Linked DNA regions of Homo sapiens: all the other regions are linked to region 1. The links are contacts of gene promoters, found by promoter capture Hi-C in blood cells and fetal thymus (Javierre and others, 2016). All regions are on one chromosome and are shown on one strand. Each heading gives the region's core, a stretch centred on a gene start or on the middle of the fragment in contact. The rest is flanking DNA. Distances are from core to core; before and after follow the strand shown. Region 1 holds the start of SEMA6A (semaphorin 6A). Region 2 overlaps COMMD10 (COMM domain containing 10). Region 3 holds the start of LOC105379137 (a long non-coding RNA gene). Region 4 overlaps LOC105379137 (a long non-coding RNA gene).

Evidence for each region. The method cuts DNA at HindIII sites, captures the fragments that hold promoters and counts their contacts. A CHiCAGO score of 5 or more calls a contact.
Region 2: a contact is called between a fragment that was not itself captured here and the fragment with the promoter of SEMA6A in region 1, in 5 of 17 cell types (neutrophils, megakaryocytes, endothelial precursors and 2 more). The highest score is 8.0, in neutrophils.
Region 3: a fragment that was not itself captured here is called in contact with the fragment with the promoter of SEMA6A in region 1 in 2 of 17 cell types (megakaryocytes and erythroblasts); the score reaches 7.1 in megakaryocytes.
Region 4: a contact is called between a fragment that was not itself captured here and the fragment with the promoter of SEMA6A in region 1, in 1 of 17 cell types (megakaryocytes). The highest score is 6.2, in megakaryocytes.

What each region holds. Positions count from the first base shown.
Region 1 is chr5:116,572,545-116,576,918 of GRCh38, forward strand. It overlaps SEMA6A (semaphorin 6A), which reads right to left and starts at 2,279. Exons shown (of 19, transcript NM_020796.5): 1 at 1,641-2,279. SEMA6A-AS2 (SEMA6A antisense RNA 2) reads left to right here and starts at 1,874. Exons shown (of 3, transcript NR_147170.1): 1 at 1,874-1,995. RefSeq lists an enhancer at 1-337 and a silencer at 2,035-2,114. The HindIII fragment of the contact is 8,307 bases long and covers 1-4,374 here.
Region 2 is chr5:116,131,621-116,135,994 of GRCh38, forward strand. COMMD10 (COMM domain containing 10) reads left to right here. Exons shown (of 7, transcript NM_016144.4): 5 at 2,448-2,558. Among named protein-coding and RNA genes, the nearest start is that of COMMD10, 49 kb to the left of the region's middle. RefSeq lists a silencer at 3,985-4,034. The HindIII fragment of the contact is 7,435 bases long and covers 1-4,374 here.
Region 3 is chr5:116,950,913-116,955,286 of GRCh38, forward strand. It overlaps LOC105379137 (a long non-coding RNA gene), which reads right to left and starts at 2,515. Exons shown (of 3, transcript XR_948694.3): 1 at 2,464-2,515. The HindIII fragment of the contact is 4,510 bases long and covers 29-4,374 here.
Region 4 is chr5:116,932,405-116,936,778 of GRCh38, forward strand. All of the region lies in intron 1 of LOC105379137 (a long non-coding RNA gene), which reads right to left. Among named protein-coding and RNA genes, the nearest start is that of LINC02214, 170 kb to the left of the region's middle. The HindIII fragment of the contact is 1,022 bases long and covers 2,091-3,112 here.

The sequences.
Region 1 (4,374 bases), core at 1,029-3,528:
GTGCGCAGGGAGCAGATGGCTCGGGATTCTGCACCTGAAGCTGCCTACTTGCAAGCCACTGAGCCCCGGCCTGTGTCCACACGCACCTTCCCCACAGCCTCTGTCCACAGTGGCCGCACCTGCCTCCGGGGTCCTGCTTCCCCATTCATCCCTTCCCCGACTTGTCGAGCAAGTACCGCGGGCCAGGAGGTTCCACTCTCCAAAGGGCCGGGATCTAGCTCCTAGCTGCATCCCGAGCTGTCCGCATGATTCCCTCCAGGTCCGGCTTCCCTCAGACTGCACATGCTGAGCCCCAGTCCGGTCGTGCCTGCCGCCCCTGGCTTTCAGGGAAACTTTCCAGGAGCGCCTGGTCTAGTGACCCCGCCGCTGTAAAGTGGGAGGAGGCGCTGGGCGGAGGGGCGGCGAGGGAGCGGGAAAAACAGCGGAATTCTGTTTCCTTTCCCGACGTCCACAAGCCCGGGACCGCTCCCTGGCTCCCCCCGTGCCGCTCGGGTCTTGCGAGGAGGGAGGAGACCTCAGGATCCTGTTTTGCACCATCTCCCACAGCGAGGAGCTGAGCAAAACGCGGAGAATCGGGACAAGAGACACTTCCCGCCCCAGAAGGATCAGGCAGGGTGGGTGGGCACTGCCCGGCTTACTCTCCAGCGCCCCATTGCCCCCATGGTAGCGCCCTAGGACACAGTGAGGAGTCGGAACAGAGCCCTAGTCTGGGTTTCAAACCCAGGGCCATCTTCTGCCAGGTCTCTCACCCTTCCCCCTCCTGGGTCATCTTTCCAGAGCGAGACCGCGCTGATCTGGGAGGAGGGCGTACCGTGCGCCAGCCCGGTGCAAAGGGCTCGGTGCTTCAGGAGGGACGCAGCCGCGACGGGCTATATCCTTGCCGCTCGGGTTGGGAGCTGCGGCGGGGGACAGGACCCATGGCGGGGGCGCCGCGTCACCCGAACGGCTGCTCCCGGACACTTATTCGAGCAAACAAAGCCCGGAACCTCTGGTGGCAGCGGCCACAGGAGCCAGGATCTCACCGAGAGACAGGGCGCGCGGGTGCCTAGAGCCATTACAAGTTTCTTGCACTCCACGGAGCCCAGCCCAGACCCCACACTGACAACAAAAGATTCTCTCCGCTTCCACACCGTCTCCGCGGAACCCCTTCTCCCACCTGGCACTGGACGAAAACAGCGCTGTTATACCCAACCCCCTCCAGCCCTCGAGGGCAGAACCCCTTCCCCTGCCTTCGACACACCGGGCCAGGGAGCTTCCGAGAATCCCACCATTTAGGGCCCGCTCTGCTCCCTGCTGGGCACGCGGGAGGATGAGCCTTGGGTCTCGCACACACACCCCCAGGAGGAACAGCCATACGCGCCGTCGCGGCCCGGGGCGGCGCCGGGCGTGTGCGCAACGCGGGTGGGAAAGCTCTCGACGTGGAGCCGGACGCACTCTGGGGCGCAGGGCAGAGAGGAAAGGCAGGCAGGGCTCACGGCTGCTCCCCCAGGACCGGGCAAGGCTCGGGAAACAGAGACACAAGACAAAATAAAACGCAGGCACCACAAAGCCGACAGCACGCGCTAGCCACGGCCCCGGGACCCTCAGGCTGGAGTCCAGCTGCCCGGGAGGTGGGGCGCGCCCGGGCGCCCGGGGCGTACCTTTTCGGTGCATCGACGGACAGGCGGCCGGGGCTCGGAGCGAACTGGTACAGCGTGTATCCCATTTAGTAATCCATTATCGAGGGGATCTCTCCGGGCCGCGGGCTGCGCTCTCTCCTTCGCAAGCCTTTGTCATTCCTACATGTGTGCTTGTCTCTTTGGGGGAAATAGTCGCGGCGACTACTTTCTGGGATGCAAACGCGATGTGTTCATCTCCAATGACGAGCGGAGAAGGGGAGAGGAAAAAAGAAGCCAAAAAAAAAAAGAAGAAAAAGAAAAAGAAAACCAACAAGGAAGAGGGTAAATGTTCAAGAAACTCTTCTCCAAATCCAAATTCCACTTGGATTCCACTTCGGTGAGTCCCCTTGGTGGTGTCTGCGCCGATTAACAAGTCATTTCAGGGCGGGGGGCGGGGTGGGGGCTGGGGCAGGGGTGCAAGGCTCTGGCCCGGCTCTGCGGCCGGCAGCGCGGTGCCGCGGGTGTGGTGATGCTGGCCGCTGCTACACGCTGCTAAGCGGGCATCGCGGGCGACCGGCACCGCGGAGGAGCGCCGCTGCTGGGTTCCGAGCGCCTGGGCAGCCGAGTGCGCGGGGAGCGGAGTTGGCTGCAGCCTCACCCCGTGCCGCTCACTACTCCTCTGTCACCGGAGAGGCCGCCGCTCCCGGGCGGAGCCAAGTCCCGGACTGGATTGCGCAGATCGGACTCTCCTTCCGCAACTCCGCCTACTTTGGCTGGCGTCTCCTCCGACCCAAAGGAGAGCTGTGGTGTATGTGAGTGCGAGTGAGCGAGGCAGAGGCGGAGAAACTACGCGGTGTGGCTGCAGGTGGAGCCTTGGACCAACTGGCCAGCGCCGCTTCCTTCCACCAGGATTCCTGGCCCCACCGCGCGCTAGGCGGAGGCTCAGCGGGGGCGACTCTGGCTGGAGCCCAGCCCTCACCTCCCCCACCCCCACATCTGCTCTAGCTAGGAAAAAAAAAAAGAAAAAAAAAATCCCGGACAGCATTGCTGAGTCCTGCCAAATCAGAAAAATAAATAAAAATAGACGTAGTGCAGGAGCGAGTTACAAGAAAGGTTTTGTTCATCGATTTTCTTAAATGGAAAAGTTTTAAAGGATGAGGGTAAGTGAACGGCGAGCTTTTCTGATTCTGATTACTGTTATCAAGAGGTAGATTCCAGAAGCGATGGACGCTCTACGTAGTTAGATGAATTGGATAGAAGCCGGTGCGGTTAAAAATACACTTGGAAGATAAGAACACAGCTATTAATTACGCACATACACACGTTAATAAAGCATGTGAAGTAAGCAAATAAACTACAGTGCAGAGAATGGCGTTTTTAACGACGGCGATCTATTTTAAAACTTAATGAAGTTCACATTTTGTGGACTGGTCTTAGAAATAAGTAAACTTCAGAAATAACACGCATACAATTCCAGTGAGAACCCAAAAGGTTTATGGAAGAAGAAAATCGCAACCACTTCCAAGGCGCTATTGTTATGATCACATGAAGAATGGCAGGCACAGCCTTCTTTCACCACTTGAACTTTCAATAGCTACAAAGTCTTGCAGTTACAGGCTTGTGCCAACTCGTCGGGCCACACCACGTTCCCCTCCCCCTGCCGCTGCGCCCCGAAATCAACTGCGCGCCGCGGCTCTTGCTCCCCAAGGGGGCTTCGCAGATGGTACGGATCCTAGTCGCAACCTTTAAACAAAGTAACATCGGGCGGCCCAGCAGTTCTCGGAGAGATATTTACTAGTCATGGAGTTGGCTGAGAAAAGCAAGTGCGGAGATCGGGGTCTCAGTCCCACTTAGGCCGAGTTTCTTTATATTGGAAACTGTACCTGTTCCCTAATTGGGACTAAGACCACTAATAAGTCCACGTTCCCTCTTTGGTCGCTTCTCTAAGTACAGACATCTGCTTAAGAGGCTTCACGAAGAATAAATGCACATGGGTCAACACCCATTCCCCCCGCACCACTACCACCACCTGGAAAAGGTAGGGAGAATGGTAGGAAAAAAAGAAAAAATCAGTACCCCTGCTGTTCTCCAGAGCTGTCAGCAGGGGCCGCTATCCCCACCTTTCTCGGGCAAAGGCCTCTATAGACCTGGGGTAGTGGGGGGCGCGGCCCTAGGTGCGCGCGCAGCCCCCGCGGCTTCAAGAGCCAGCCTCGGGAGGGGGTTGGGGAGTGTGGGGCGGTGGGTAGGATTGCGCTTTCCCGCGGGTTGGGTGGGGGCCGGCTCCAGGACGTCTCCTCAGAATCCCGCGGGGTTAGGAGAAGGATCTGGCGGCCAAGACGGCTGGATCCCCGGCTGCGCTATTTAACACCCAGATTTTGGCTGATGACTGCAGGGTCAGTGTGAGCTGGTCCCCTGGCTCGTCCGTGCGCCCCAGGCGCGGTACTGCAGCCCCTTCGAAGCTCCGGACCCTTCGGCCTCCGGGGTTTTTTGTCCCGCGCTCCACCCAACCGGGGTCGCCGAGGCTCCTTCTTCGCTCCCCGCCGCCGATTTACATGCTAATTGTGTCTGGGAAAAGTTCTTAAATTGGCAGAATTAGGCAGAGCAAACGAATTGTTTCACAGGCCGAACTAAATTAATTTCGGGTTTAGCTCCTTCCCTTAGAGAAACAAACAATTAAGTTGTTTTATTTGCTTTATGGATATATTGGAAATGCCCCACAACGAGTTTCAGGATATTGTTTAAAGGGACATTATATTCAATATTAATACTTGCATGT
Region 2 (4,374 bases), core at 769-3,268, 440 kb before region 1:
TGACTCTGTCAGAGGCTGTTGTAGGTCACAAGGATATAAAGGTGAATAAGACTCCAGCTGTCTCCTAATGGAGATTGCACTCTACTCTGAGGAGATAGACATGTAGACAAATTATTGCAATACACTGATCTAAATGTTAATAGAGAAAGATGCAGAGTGCTGAGGGAACAGAGTAGCAGACTACAGAGGGAAGGGAAAGGAAAAAATAACAGAGGAGGTGACACTGGAGTCAAAGAAGAGGCATGTGAAACAGCATAGTATGTTTTGGGAATCTTATTTGTTTCACTGTGGCTAAATTATAGATAATTAGTAATATGTTTTAGAACGTAGGAGTGGAAAGGTTGTTATCCCATCCTGAGGGGTTTTGTATATAGAGTTTGGATTTTATTTTGTAGGTAGTAAGGAGCTATTGGAGAATTTTAAGAAGGGAAGTGGGATGATGGGACGAGGTTCTATAGGAGGCAGGTAGCCCAGTTAGAAGACTATTGTGATAGTCTGGGAATATGTGGATGATGAGAATCTGAAATGAGTCATGAATTTTGGAAAATATTTGAAAAATATTTAGAAGATACTGTAGAACAAATTAGGTGACCAAAATGCCTTATATTTATAATACTTTATAGTTTCCAAAATCCTTTAGGTGTGCATGTTATTGGATATTATCAGTAACCCAGAAAAGTAGGTAGTTCAGATGGATTTATTTCCATTTTATATGAGGAAATTGAGATCTTGAAAGATTGTGGCTTAGCCACGGTCACATAGCTGGTGATAGTTTAAGCATGAACCAAATCATAAACTTCAAATATAGGGTTCTTTTTAATTTGTCTGCATCATCTCTATGCAGTGCCTAAGCATACATTAGTTAATATCAAGGCCTGATCACAGTGGGGTGTGAGTTTTAATTTATTCACTTGATATCTCTCTTCATTAGTTATGTTAAGTGCCTAATGGAGAGGGATAGGATCAATTAAATAAGGTAAATGCAACATTTTACAGGTCTATATAAATACCTAGAAAGTGCTTTTCAATTAAGACGGCATGTATGCCAGTGCTTTTTTATATATGAGAATGGTTATGACATTTATTCCTATTTTATTGGAGAGTCTATTGCATGGGACTTGATAATAGTGGCAGGCTGGTATCAGAGACTATGCTTGCTGTAATCAGTGTTAAAGATCAGTATGTAAAGAATCCTTACTTAACATGTACCATGAAATTGATTTTTTATTAGTTATTATAGAGATATTATAGATTATATCTCTACAACATCTTCCTTCTTTTTACCCATAACCTCTAAAAGGCTTAGTGCCAGAAGGAACAGAACTGTATCTTTATTTTCTCATCACATCCTCTCTCAAATAGATAATACTTCCATTGCTGTCTTTCCAACTTGGCTTTGAGTCACTGCTGTGATTCTAGCTGTTGAACAGTCTTTCAAATTAAGTGATTAGTATTCTAGTCAAGGAAAAATTGTGAGCCTGCCATTCTTACCCAGTATTGCTAAGGTAGTTTTACTAAATCTATTATTAGGGTCATGTTCTCAGAGGCATATGACAATTGCATTTCACAAAACTTCCCTAAATATTGATACTTGAGATTTACAGGAAATTAAATCTAAAACCTTACACTTCTGAAGCTGGAGGCACCATAGAGCTGTGAAGTTCAGTATAAAGTCACATCTGTGCTCAATACTTTATAAGAAAAGTTACTCTGCCTTAGTCTTCCTTTACTATTTTTGTCTTACTTGATTAAAATTTTGCTGTTGTATTAACTAATAAATTCAAAGGAAATGTTCTGATTAGTTTCTGTCATAACTGGGAACGATAGTAAGAGTACCTTGGAAAGTATGATAGTCTGTTGCGTAACACTTGCTGGGTAGTAGATATCAATTCTCTGCCTGTTTCAATCTCATTGTGTCTAAAGGTGTGAACCTCTTACCATCTGGATACTTTAGTTTCCCTCTAAATTAAAAAGAAAAAAAGCAAATCTTACCTGTATAGTACCTACGCAAAGATTTTGGAAGATAGTGGGAAGTCATTAAAGTGCTTTTCACCAATTTATGCAATTTACTAGTTGAAATTTGTAACTATTTAAAAATCATTAGTTTTAAAAAATACTATTTTAAAATAGTAATTTACTATTTAATATTTAAAAACCATTGGCTCTTTTAATATATTTCATTGCTTGGTATTAGAATTTTTTATTTTTAGAATAGAGTATATTTAAAGATGACTTTTGCTGTTAAATTTGACAGGCGTGGCAGGAGGCCAATCTAATAAGCCCAAAGGGAGAATTCGCAGAGTATGCAGGTTAAAAGAGCCCTGGAACTGACTTTCTGTGAAGCCTAGGCTATCCATATACATTCCTGCTGAGTGGAGATTTGCTTAAAGTTGACTGTTTTCTTCCTTCTGTACCATCTGATTCCAATCTGCACCTGTCTTTTATAGCTAGAGACCGTTGGATGGCAGCTTAACCTTCAGATGGCTCACTCTGCTCAAGCAAAACTAAAATCTCCTCAAGCTGTGTTACAACTCGGAGTGAACAATGAAGATTCAAAGGTAAGAAATGGTATCCCATTAAAAGGATGTATTTTGTTTGTTAGGACTTAAACTTTTTATTCTTAGCAGTCTTTGCTCTCTGGATTTAGAATTTAAACATAATTCAGTTAAACAGTTATTAATAAGTGGATCTTTTTTGACAGAAATAGCTTATCTTGCAAGGTGCCTTTCTTACAAAAACATTTCATAATGTCTTCTTTTAAATTCTGCAGTGAAAAAAAATTGTTGAAGACCATATAAAATTATGATTTTAATGTTTTAGGTATTTGCAGATATTCCTGAGTGTTTCATGTTTTAAGCTGAATATATGTGGTAGAGAGAATATTGTTTGTTGTCCAGCTAGAGCCTGGAACAATAAATATGATGGTGACCTGAATTGTGTTTTTGTGTGTGTAGTAGTATAGTATGCCTGCATGTGTTTAAATCCCAGCTTTTGAGAAATACAATTTATTTATTTTTTTTGAGACGGTGTCTTGCTGTCGCCCAGGTTGGAGTGCAGTGGCGCGATCTCGGCTCACTGCAGGCTCCGCCCCCTGGGGTTCACGCCATTCTCCTGCCTCAGCCTCCCGAGTAGCTGGGACTACAGGCGCCTGCCACCTTGTCCGGCTAATTTTTTGTATTTTTAGTAGAGATGGGGTTTCACCGTGTTAGCCAGGATGGTCTCGATCCCCTGACCTTGTGATCCACCCCCCTCAGCCTCCCAAAGTGCTGGGATTACAGGCGTGAGCCACCGCGCCCGGCCTACAATTTTTTTTATACCACAGGATTTTACTTTATTATTAATTTCAGAACAACTTGAACGTGATTATTAAAGATCAAAGCATTGCTATGAAATACTTTTTGTTACTGCGGCATATAGGGAAATATATCTTTCAGATATGATAAGAGCTTTTTATCATATTTTATACTGTAATGGATTATCTTTTAAGGTAGAAAAGGGGGAGTGACTTTTTCCTCCTAAGTAGATAAGACTATCTCATCTTAAGACAAAATAGAATTGAGAATGAGGTATTAGAGAAGATCTGAGGCAGGAGATTACAGTGACTGAATGATAATAGAATAATGGAAGAAATGTTATTATTTATAACAGGAATTGAAGGATGGGAATATTATTACTTTTTTGTTAAAACTTTCGCTATTCATTCTATTATGCAGGTTTCTGGCTTCTTTAAGAAGTATCTAGCCCAGATTATATGACTATAAAATTCTGTGGAATTGACTTGAGTCTTACATATAATGTATTAGTTTATTACAGTGTTTCAAAAGTATCATTTTATTTCACACATTTTCACTGGAACGTAATATGAACTTAGTGGTTAGAGTCAAGCTATTAGAGTATGTCTGGTGGTTTCCCTTTATGTGCAGTTTCACTTTCCATAGTTTCAGTTACCCGCGGTCAACTGCCGTTTGAAATAGGTGAGTACAGTACAGTAAGATGAGAGAAAGAGACCACGTCCACATAACTTTATTACACTATGTTGTTGTAGTTGTTCTATTTTATTATTATTGTTGTTAATCTCTTACAGTGCCTAATTTATAAATTAAACTTTATCATAGGTTTGTATATATGGGAAAAAACAGTATATATTGGGTTTAGTACTATCCATGGTTTCAGGCCTCCACTGGGAGTTTTGGAATGCATCCCCCCACAGTGGGCAGGGGGACTACTGTGTGCTCTGCAGTTTAGTGTAGTGTAACCTCAGGCAAATTACTTAATCTTTGATTCTCAGTTTCTTTATCTGTAAAATATAGGTAATAGTATCTATCTACACAATTTTTATGAAGACTAAATACCTAGTATATGTAAAGTGTTTAG
Region 3 (4,374 bases), core at 1,034-3,533, 380 kb after region 1:
TTCATAGATGAGATTTGGGTATGAAGAAAGCTTAAACTTGTAAACAAAATAGGAAAAGATGAAAAAGGGCAAAAACAATATTAACATGTTTTTGTTTTGTTTTTTCCCCAAAGGATATAATGAGCTTTTCTCTACATAAATGAATCTTTTTGTCAGCTTAGGAAAAATTTCTTCTATTATATATGTCAGTATTGTTTTTTGTTCCACTTGTTCCATTATGTTCTTTGAGAACCCAAATTGTTTATGTTTAATTTTGTTTCTCTTTTCTATCTATAAACTTCGTCATTGTTTTCTTCTGAATTTTGGGAAACCTCCTTGAGATTTTCCTCTCTATCGCTCATTAGATTTTTCACATAGTCTTTCCCTTTGTTGACTCCAAAATGAATTTTATTGTTTTTATTTTAAGCCATTAATTCCCTAGTAAGTTATGCTCTTTTTTTTTTATCTATTGTATCTCTTACAAGTTCCTCCTCAGCTTTATTATTATGATTATTTTTGCATTATGCTGAGCATGCAATTTCCTGGAACTTTCTTCTCCATACTAGAGATCATTTTTCAAAGGCATCTTTTTCCTCTGAATTTTCAGAATGTTATTTTTGCTCTCTTGGTCTCTACTATTTTTGAGTGGGCCCAGTACTTTATTTTGTACCTTTTTATCTACACTTAAATAAAATATAGATTTGAGTATAGGTTACTCCAGTCCTGTTTATGACGTTCTCCTAAATCTATCCTATTGGACCTAAATCTGGTCCAATCTCTACACCCTCTTGGGGAACCTGTATACCACAAAAGGTATAACCTCTACAGCTGCTACTACCCACCCCACAATTGAGTATATACAGTAGTAACTCTTTTCACTAGTCTCAACACAACCAATCTGTACCTTAATTTCTTCTCTAAAACATACACAGTATTTCTCATGCTACTCTGAATGTTCATGGATAACAGGCCACTCCCTAGTATGTCTGTATAATTCTGATTATACTTACCAGTAATCACTTTGCTTGTTTCCCAAATTTGTTAATTCCAGTTGGCTGTTTTAAGAATTATATGATTTAATTGCATATTATGTAAATGGATGAATACATTTAGAATTAAGGAAATATCATCTGTGAAATACATATTTGGAAAAGTAATTTGCTAATAAATAATGCTGTCAAAATAGATGTCAGCAAGAAAATGGTGAAAGATTTAAATATGTAAAAATCTGTAAAGATTTTATACTTACATTGTTCCACAGAATATTGAGTTTTCAATTTTTTTAAAGAACTAAAATTTGGGATTATAGATAATGCATTACTCCAAGAAGACGGTAGGAAACTAATCAGTGGACTCATTATCAAACAAAAGGCTTTAACGAAATATTTGTGAATTACTTTGTTTTACATATTTAAGTTGAAATACTTAGAATATATGTTTCACTTTTCTGGTTTCCTGCTTTAACCAAGGAACAGACCAGAGTTTAGCAAATGCATGAGTTCTGCAAATAATAGTTGTTTCTTGTCTAGAATCTTTTGCTTCTTTTCTTTGTGTAGCACTTTACTTGTGGGGGTACACTTTTAAGATTGCAAATCACCGTCACCAATATGCCACTCTATTCTCTAACCTTTGTTTTCTGGGAGCAACTAAATTTTAATAAATATCATTTGACATGTAAAAAAAGTTTAAATTCAAAATAATAAATACATATGCATGTGTATGCACACTCACACACACATTCACACACACATACACACACACACACACACATGCATGAAGAGTTCTTGTAAACATTATTTTACCCAGCTCTATTTTTGTAAGGAAAAATGAAAGATATGACCCAGATTTCCTTGGGGAGAAAAGTTTTGGAATTAAACTACACAGGATATGCAAAATAAATGAACTCAAACAAACTGCAATGCAGTGGGAGTTCTTCTTTCATGCTGTAAACTCATTTGTCAAAATAATAGTTGCTATATCTACATGGATGACCTATATGGCCTCTCATTAACTTGGTTTGATTAGACAGCTAAACTATTTAGTAGAGTCTGAAGAAGATTCTCAATATAATTGGGAGCCCAAAGTGGATAAACCAACACTAAACAGTAAGAATCTAAATTCATTATTCAAGTAATTTTTGATGCACAAAACCACAGAAGAAATCAGGATTATCTCTGAGCATCTTTGTGCTGTGATAACAACCACTTATCTGTGTACGCAGATAAATCGCTAGAACATCGGATAGTGCAACGTATTTAATAATAATGTGGAAGAAGTTGCTCATAAGAGCTGATTATATCTGTTGATTTTCCTAGTTATTTGTGGAACACACTTAATAAGTGTTTATTGTTAAAGAACAATAGGAATAAAATCAATCATATATGTATGCTTTCAAATACTTATCTGTTCTAATTATTGGAGCCAATTTGAATTGCATCTTCTCTTTGGCAAATGACAGTTGAATTCATTGTAGAGGATACTCACATCTTTGACTCGTTAAAAATGATGACAATGGGCTGTTTTCAGTTTGTCTCTGTTGGTTGCCATAGTTTCCTAGGATACAATGACTCCCAGTTTCCATGGGCACACCACTGGCTAGGGCTGAAATGTTCTCTGTCATGGTGCAAGGGCAAATCTGGGAGCATCCTCTGTTTAAAACTGCATTTTTGAAAATTTCAAGATGGAGGCATTAATGAAAATAAAATAACAGCAAGGACTCCTTTTGTACAAACAAGGTACAATAATAAAGAAATGGTGATGGTAGGCAAATAGCCATAACAATGAAATTCATCAAGAAGGCAGATGGAAAGGGAAAGGGATAAAGAAGGAAGGGGGACACAGAGAAGGAGAGTCCGGAGCTTAGGGAAGAAACCACAGATGCTGTTTCAATTATTTGTATCACATGAGTGAAACAGAAATTTTCAAAAATGGCCTAGTTAGGGGCCATTTATTTAACAATAAAAGTACTTACTTTATTCTTTCATTTTATATTGACTCTAGCTTTTGGCACCTTTTTACCTCTTCGTTTGTGTGTGGCTCAATTAAAAGTAAACCAGCTCTTAGCTGAAGAACTCCTAATCCTGAAAGCTGTTTCCTTCAGTGTTAAATCAAGCCCCTGGTCTTTTCTACAAATTCTCATGCTCACATTTTTTGTTTTATGTATGGATTTCCTTTGCCTCTTCTTGCCCACTGTTCTCCAAGTTTTGTATGCCTTTCCTTTTTTTGTTTGTTTTCTGTGCTCTACAACCTACTTTCTCATAATCTTCATCTCAGCTGTTTTTTTTTTTTTTAAACATTACTGCTTTGTCAATGTGTTAGGTTCCCAGTGTATAGTTTTATGCTTTTTTGGGTCCTCTTTGCTGCCTGATAATAAGCTGCTGAGATAATTTACTAAGCTGTTTTTGCTTTTTTGGGAGGCTATTTAATGTGTATATTGCTTGCTGCCACTGAAGTTCATTAAGAAATACCTAGTTTATTCATTATTTGCATTCATTTATATCGCTTCATTGTAGGGGAGGAGATATATCTTTTCTGAACCCATCCAGATTTATGAATGGGTCCCTACAACAAAAGACAAATTAACAAAAGGGAAGCATGACATTTATTTATAATATAAGTTTTACATGACATAGGAGCCTTCATAAGGAAATGAAGACCAGAAGAAATGGAAGAACCCGTGTATTTTTTATACTAGCTTTGAGGAATAAGTGGATGAAATAGAGAAGATAATTGGATTTAAAAGTATGATTTAATGGTAATAAATCAGGACGAATTTAGTAAGAACTGTTTGTTCAGATTCTTCTTTGTGACCCTGTTATCTTCAGAGATAAGGATGTTACTTTCCTCTGCGTATAGGGAAGGCACCTCTCAAGTGAGGGTCTTATGGCCTGCCTCAGTGTATGGTCAGAGAATATTTTCTAGGATTTATGACCTGCATCAGGAGAGAAGGATGAGGGAAGGTGAAAGTGACATTCCTGCTTCTGTTTTCTCAAATGCCAAGGTGCCACATTTTGGGGGTAGTGTGTGCTGAATTGCATCACCGTAAAAATTTCTCTTCATTTCCAAAAAGTTGAAAAGATCCATTTTTCTTGAAGCTATACCTGAAAATAAAAAATTTCCTCTTTTTTAAAGAAATATCAGAACAATACAAGTGTGTTAGTGCCATTTATACTCTGCTGGGCCATGAGCTTGGAGTAAGTACATTGACTGTCTCCAAATAATTCAGAATTTTTTTGAAAAGAATGGAAGTAGCTTAGGATATTAAGTTAAAGAAGTTGATTGAAGAGCTAAACTTAGGTGTACTTGTATATGGGTTGTTCTCAAACTATAGTGTGCATCACAATTACTGGGATGCCAGCACAGATTGCTGTGCCCAATCACCGAATTTCTGGTTCA
Region 4 (4,374 bases), core at 1,352-3,851, 360 kb after region 1:
ATCCCTAATCCCTTCCCTCTAAATGATTGCCTGTGATCTCAGGGTTTTGACCCTGCATTTGTCTGCTTTTTGTGAGCTTCTCAATAGAAAGATGCTATCAAGTGCGTGTGTGGTATGGGAATTGGCTCACAAGACAAGGTTGCACAGGGTTTATGTAGCCATGTGTTTCCATAAAGTCTACAACTGCAATATTCAGGCGGAGAGATAAGAACAGTTTTTTTTAAAGAAGAATATCTTATTATTTTGTCAAAACTCTTGGAAATCTATGAATACTAAAGCCAAATTAAATGAAACAAATACTTCTTACGTTGGTTTTATTTTTACTCTCTTATTTCAAGTGGCTTTTGAAAGCCCTTTGCTTCATTTGGAAGCATTCCTTTGGCCATGGCACATGAGAGGGGGAAGACCTATTACAAAAGGGAATAAAAATTACTTAATCTTAATTCATAAAATCTTAGATTAGAAGCAACCTTTGAGATCATCAGTCCAATCTCTTTCTGAAGATAATCATCTAGGCTCGCTTGAGCATTTCTAGTGATTAGAAACTCATTATGTTTTAGAGAGTCATTCTCTTTGGGGAAATTACTAGAAGATCTTTCTTATCTTGAGATTAAATCTGCATACCTGTTAACTTCTACATCTCAGAGCAATACAAAGAAGATGATTAATCATTTCATTTAAAAATAGTTATCTTAGGCCTCTTCAAATGTTTGAAGAAAGTTTCCATGTCCCCACCTGAGTCTCCCCCTCAACCTCTTTCCCAAGGTTAAACATATTCACTTCCTTCAACCATTTCTCAGAGAAAAAAGTTTTCAGAGTTTTATCAGACCAGTCACCTCTGCATGAAATGACAGTATCTCTCTACAAATTTCAGCTTAGTTTTGGCCAAGTAAGATCACTTTAAGGAGTTCTCAACCCTGCCCATGCATTTGAGTCGCCTGGAGAACCTTGACAAGTTTTACTTCCTTTGTAGACATTCGATTTCAGTTGATATGGGATGAGACCTGGACATTAGAATTTTCTAATGTAAAAGAAATAAAACCCCTTCTACTGAAATCACCTGAGTCCCAGGCAGGGCTTTAGAATTGAGAGCAAAGCTAGTTAATAAATGTATGACAAGGCCCAGCTGAATTTTGAGCAGGCTATCTAAACATTTCAGGAGAAGATGATATTTACCATTTACCAAGAAGCCTGGTATCAGGCTAAGTGTGAACTAATTTAAATACAAAACAATAAATAAGAGCCTGAGGCTCAGAGCAACTAAGTGACGTGACCAAGATGATATTGGCCACAACAAAGAGGCAAGGAGATTCCATACTAGGCTATAGAGACCTTGAGCCAACCTCTTTTTGGATAAACTGGTTTTCCTTCTTCCATTACTGTCTCTTCTAGAACAAGGGCCTGAAATGGAAATGGTGGCTGTTGGACCACAAGAGTCAGTTGCTCTTAGGCTGCTTCCAAGCCTAGTGTGAGAGAACACTGAGTGAGGCCCTTTGCTATCCAGATTACTGAGGCAGTCCTGGGTAAGGTGGGCCTCTCCCACTAGTGCCCTTGCCCTGCATCCTTGCCTACCAAGCATCCTGAATACAGGAGGTAAAACTAGGGGTGGAGGACAGTGCTGTTCAGAGACTGAGTGGCCTGGCTGCAAGGACATTTAGCACAGAGGAAGCCAGTAGGGTTTGGTGACAGTCCCTACCATGGCCTTCATGTTCATTCCCCTTCGATACTTCAAACCAGAGCAGCGGGCCTTTCTCCAACAAGTATGTGAGAAAAAAAAATGGGATGGACACTTGGAACTGAGTAAAGAAACAGATCAATTTGACATACTGAGCATTCATTCCCAAGATCCTTATATAGCTGAAGAACTATCTGGTACATATATATCAACCATGTTAAATACTATTCACCATGGTCTGACCATCCCACACAAACCACTTCCTCAGGGCACGTCCTTCATCCCTGGCATCCCAAACCCCGTGTGGGTTCTCGTGGAGCTTTTTTAGTAAGGGCAGTCATGAGAAAGCTTGGAGTCTCTGGAGGACCATTTTCTTTTACTTACTTTTGTCATGTTATTTTAAAAAGAAAAAAAAAGCTTTGCCTTTTTAGGTTCATCTGTGTTTGATTTTTAGGTGATTACTTTAGCCTATGAACCTGTAAGCATTCAGGGACTGGGTTAAAATCCTGCCTGTTACTTACAAATATTGACCCTGACAAGTGACAAGTAGTGATCTGTTTATGAAATACGTTTTGTTTTTAAATCTGTTGAGGAACAGACTTGAGCCAGATTAGTCTTGTATCTCACTAAAACTTTAGCCATAAGAAATATGTATTGTTTTCTTAAGAGTTTGCTCATTGACTATTTTAGTGTCGGTTCCCCTGGAAGTAGACCTTGAGTCAACAATTTGAGTGCAGAAGTTATTTGGGAGTCAAGGAACACTAGCTTGGGCAAGGGGAATTGATGTAGGGAAGGAAAGAGAAAATAACAAGTGAATTATTAGGCCACCTCTCACAGTGGGGTAGCATAATTGCATGGAGAAACTCTAGAAAGGTAGTGTAAAACAAGTCTTAGAATTATCCTGCCAAGGAGTAAAGGAGAGGGGATATTTATGCCCCCACATCCATTAGTCATTGGACAGGGACTTTCTCTGGTAGTTCTCACGTCTACTCTTTAAAGATGCAGAGGCTGGCTGGTGGAAGCCTGGTTGGGCATGCATGAAAATAATACGTGGGTGAGAAGAAATTTGAGGGAAACACATTAGACATGTTAAATGTGGTAACTAAGAGGAATAAGGGAGTTTGTTGCATCTGGAAAGAGAGATATAAGCAAAAAAAGTTATAAAAATTGTGTTTGTAATTTAAAAATTAGTGTTTTCTACAAGTCTTCAATCAATTTTTTTCTTAAGCCATTATTACCAGAACTGTACGTAATTTTCTAGAAGTATAAATTAAAATGGGTTTTGGCTCATACTCATCTCTAGAGATTTTTGAATCCTGAGTCTCTCTTCCAAAATATTTATTATTTCTCCCAAACTAATGTTAATTTAATTCAATCTATGTGTATGTACTTGATATGTAATTTCTACTCAGCACAGTGCTTGCCACTTACTAAAGAAGCTTAGAGTGAGAATCCAAGTGTTTCAGTGTCAACATATTGCAATTTAAAAATTTTAAACTAGGTATATCCAGGTGTCCAAAAGTGCACATATGACCATTGTGACAGTTAAAAGACAGCCACAAGTTCTTTGGCATTCCTCTATTGAGAGGTGGGTCTGTGTTCCCTGTCCTTTAGTTCTGGTTGGGCTCTGTGACTACTTTGATTAATAGAATGTGGCAGAAGCAATGCTGTGCCAGTTTGCAGGTCCTAACCATATGGTGCAGTGCCAGCGGCTTCTACTTCCCATATCTGGAAATACTTATATTTGCAGTGTTTCCTCTGGGTAATCCACTGCCAGGATGTGAAACTCCAAAGCCACCTGATGAAGCCTTGTGTAGGTGCCCCTATCAGTAGCCACAGCTGAACTCCCAACAGATAGCCAGAATCAACTGCCAGCCATAATAACAGTCCATTTTGGGTACTGAGCCCAGTCAAGAGTTTCCATGACTGCTTTGCCAGCTAATATCTAACTATAACCTCATGGGACACCCTGCATGAGCCTAGTCGACTGACAGAACCATGAGAAATAATAAAAGCAATTTAGTTTTAAGGTACTGAATTTTTCATTGAGGGGTGGGGTTAGTGGGGGGAATTGTTACACTGTAATAAATAAGTGGAACATCTATGTGGGTTTTAGGGATGGTTTCTTAGAGTTGTAAGAAGGTCACTTATATAAGACCTTCTTATTGTACACAAGATGTTCACTTATTTTGAGTTAGAGGATGAGTATGAGTTATCCATAAAACAAAGTTAAAGAAAATGATAAGAGCAAAAAGAGCCTAGTACGTTCGGGAAAATGCAAGCAATTTAGCTTTACTGAGACTAAAATGATAATAAGGAAAGCTAGAAAATTGGGTCCATTGTTCAAAGAGGTTTCTATGTACTATGTTGAGGATCTGGTGCTCAGTCTTCTAAGTGGTTCTAATTGTTCTCAGAAAGCTAACAGTCTGAAGTCTTCAACTAATTGGATAATAATGAACTGAGGGGTTCATCCAAGTTGTCTCCAAATATGTTAATCGGCTTTGATCAGGCTCATTCATTCATTCGTTCAAAGATTTATTGAGCTCTTACTGGGTGCTAGGTGTTAAAGGGATCAGAAAACCAATAAGTCATAGTTCCGTTCCCTCAAATGCTTAGAGTGTCTTTGATATTCAGATGTATAGGAAAAAGTTAAAAAAGACACAGAGTCAAAGATGATACATGGAAAATTACACCTTCTG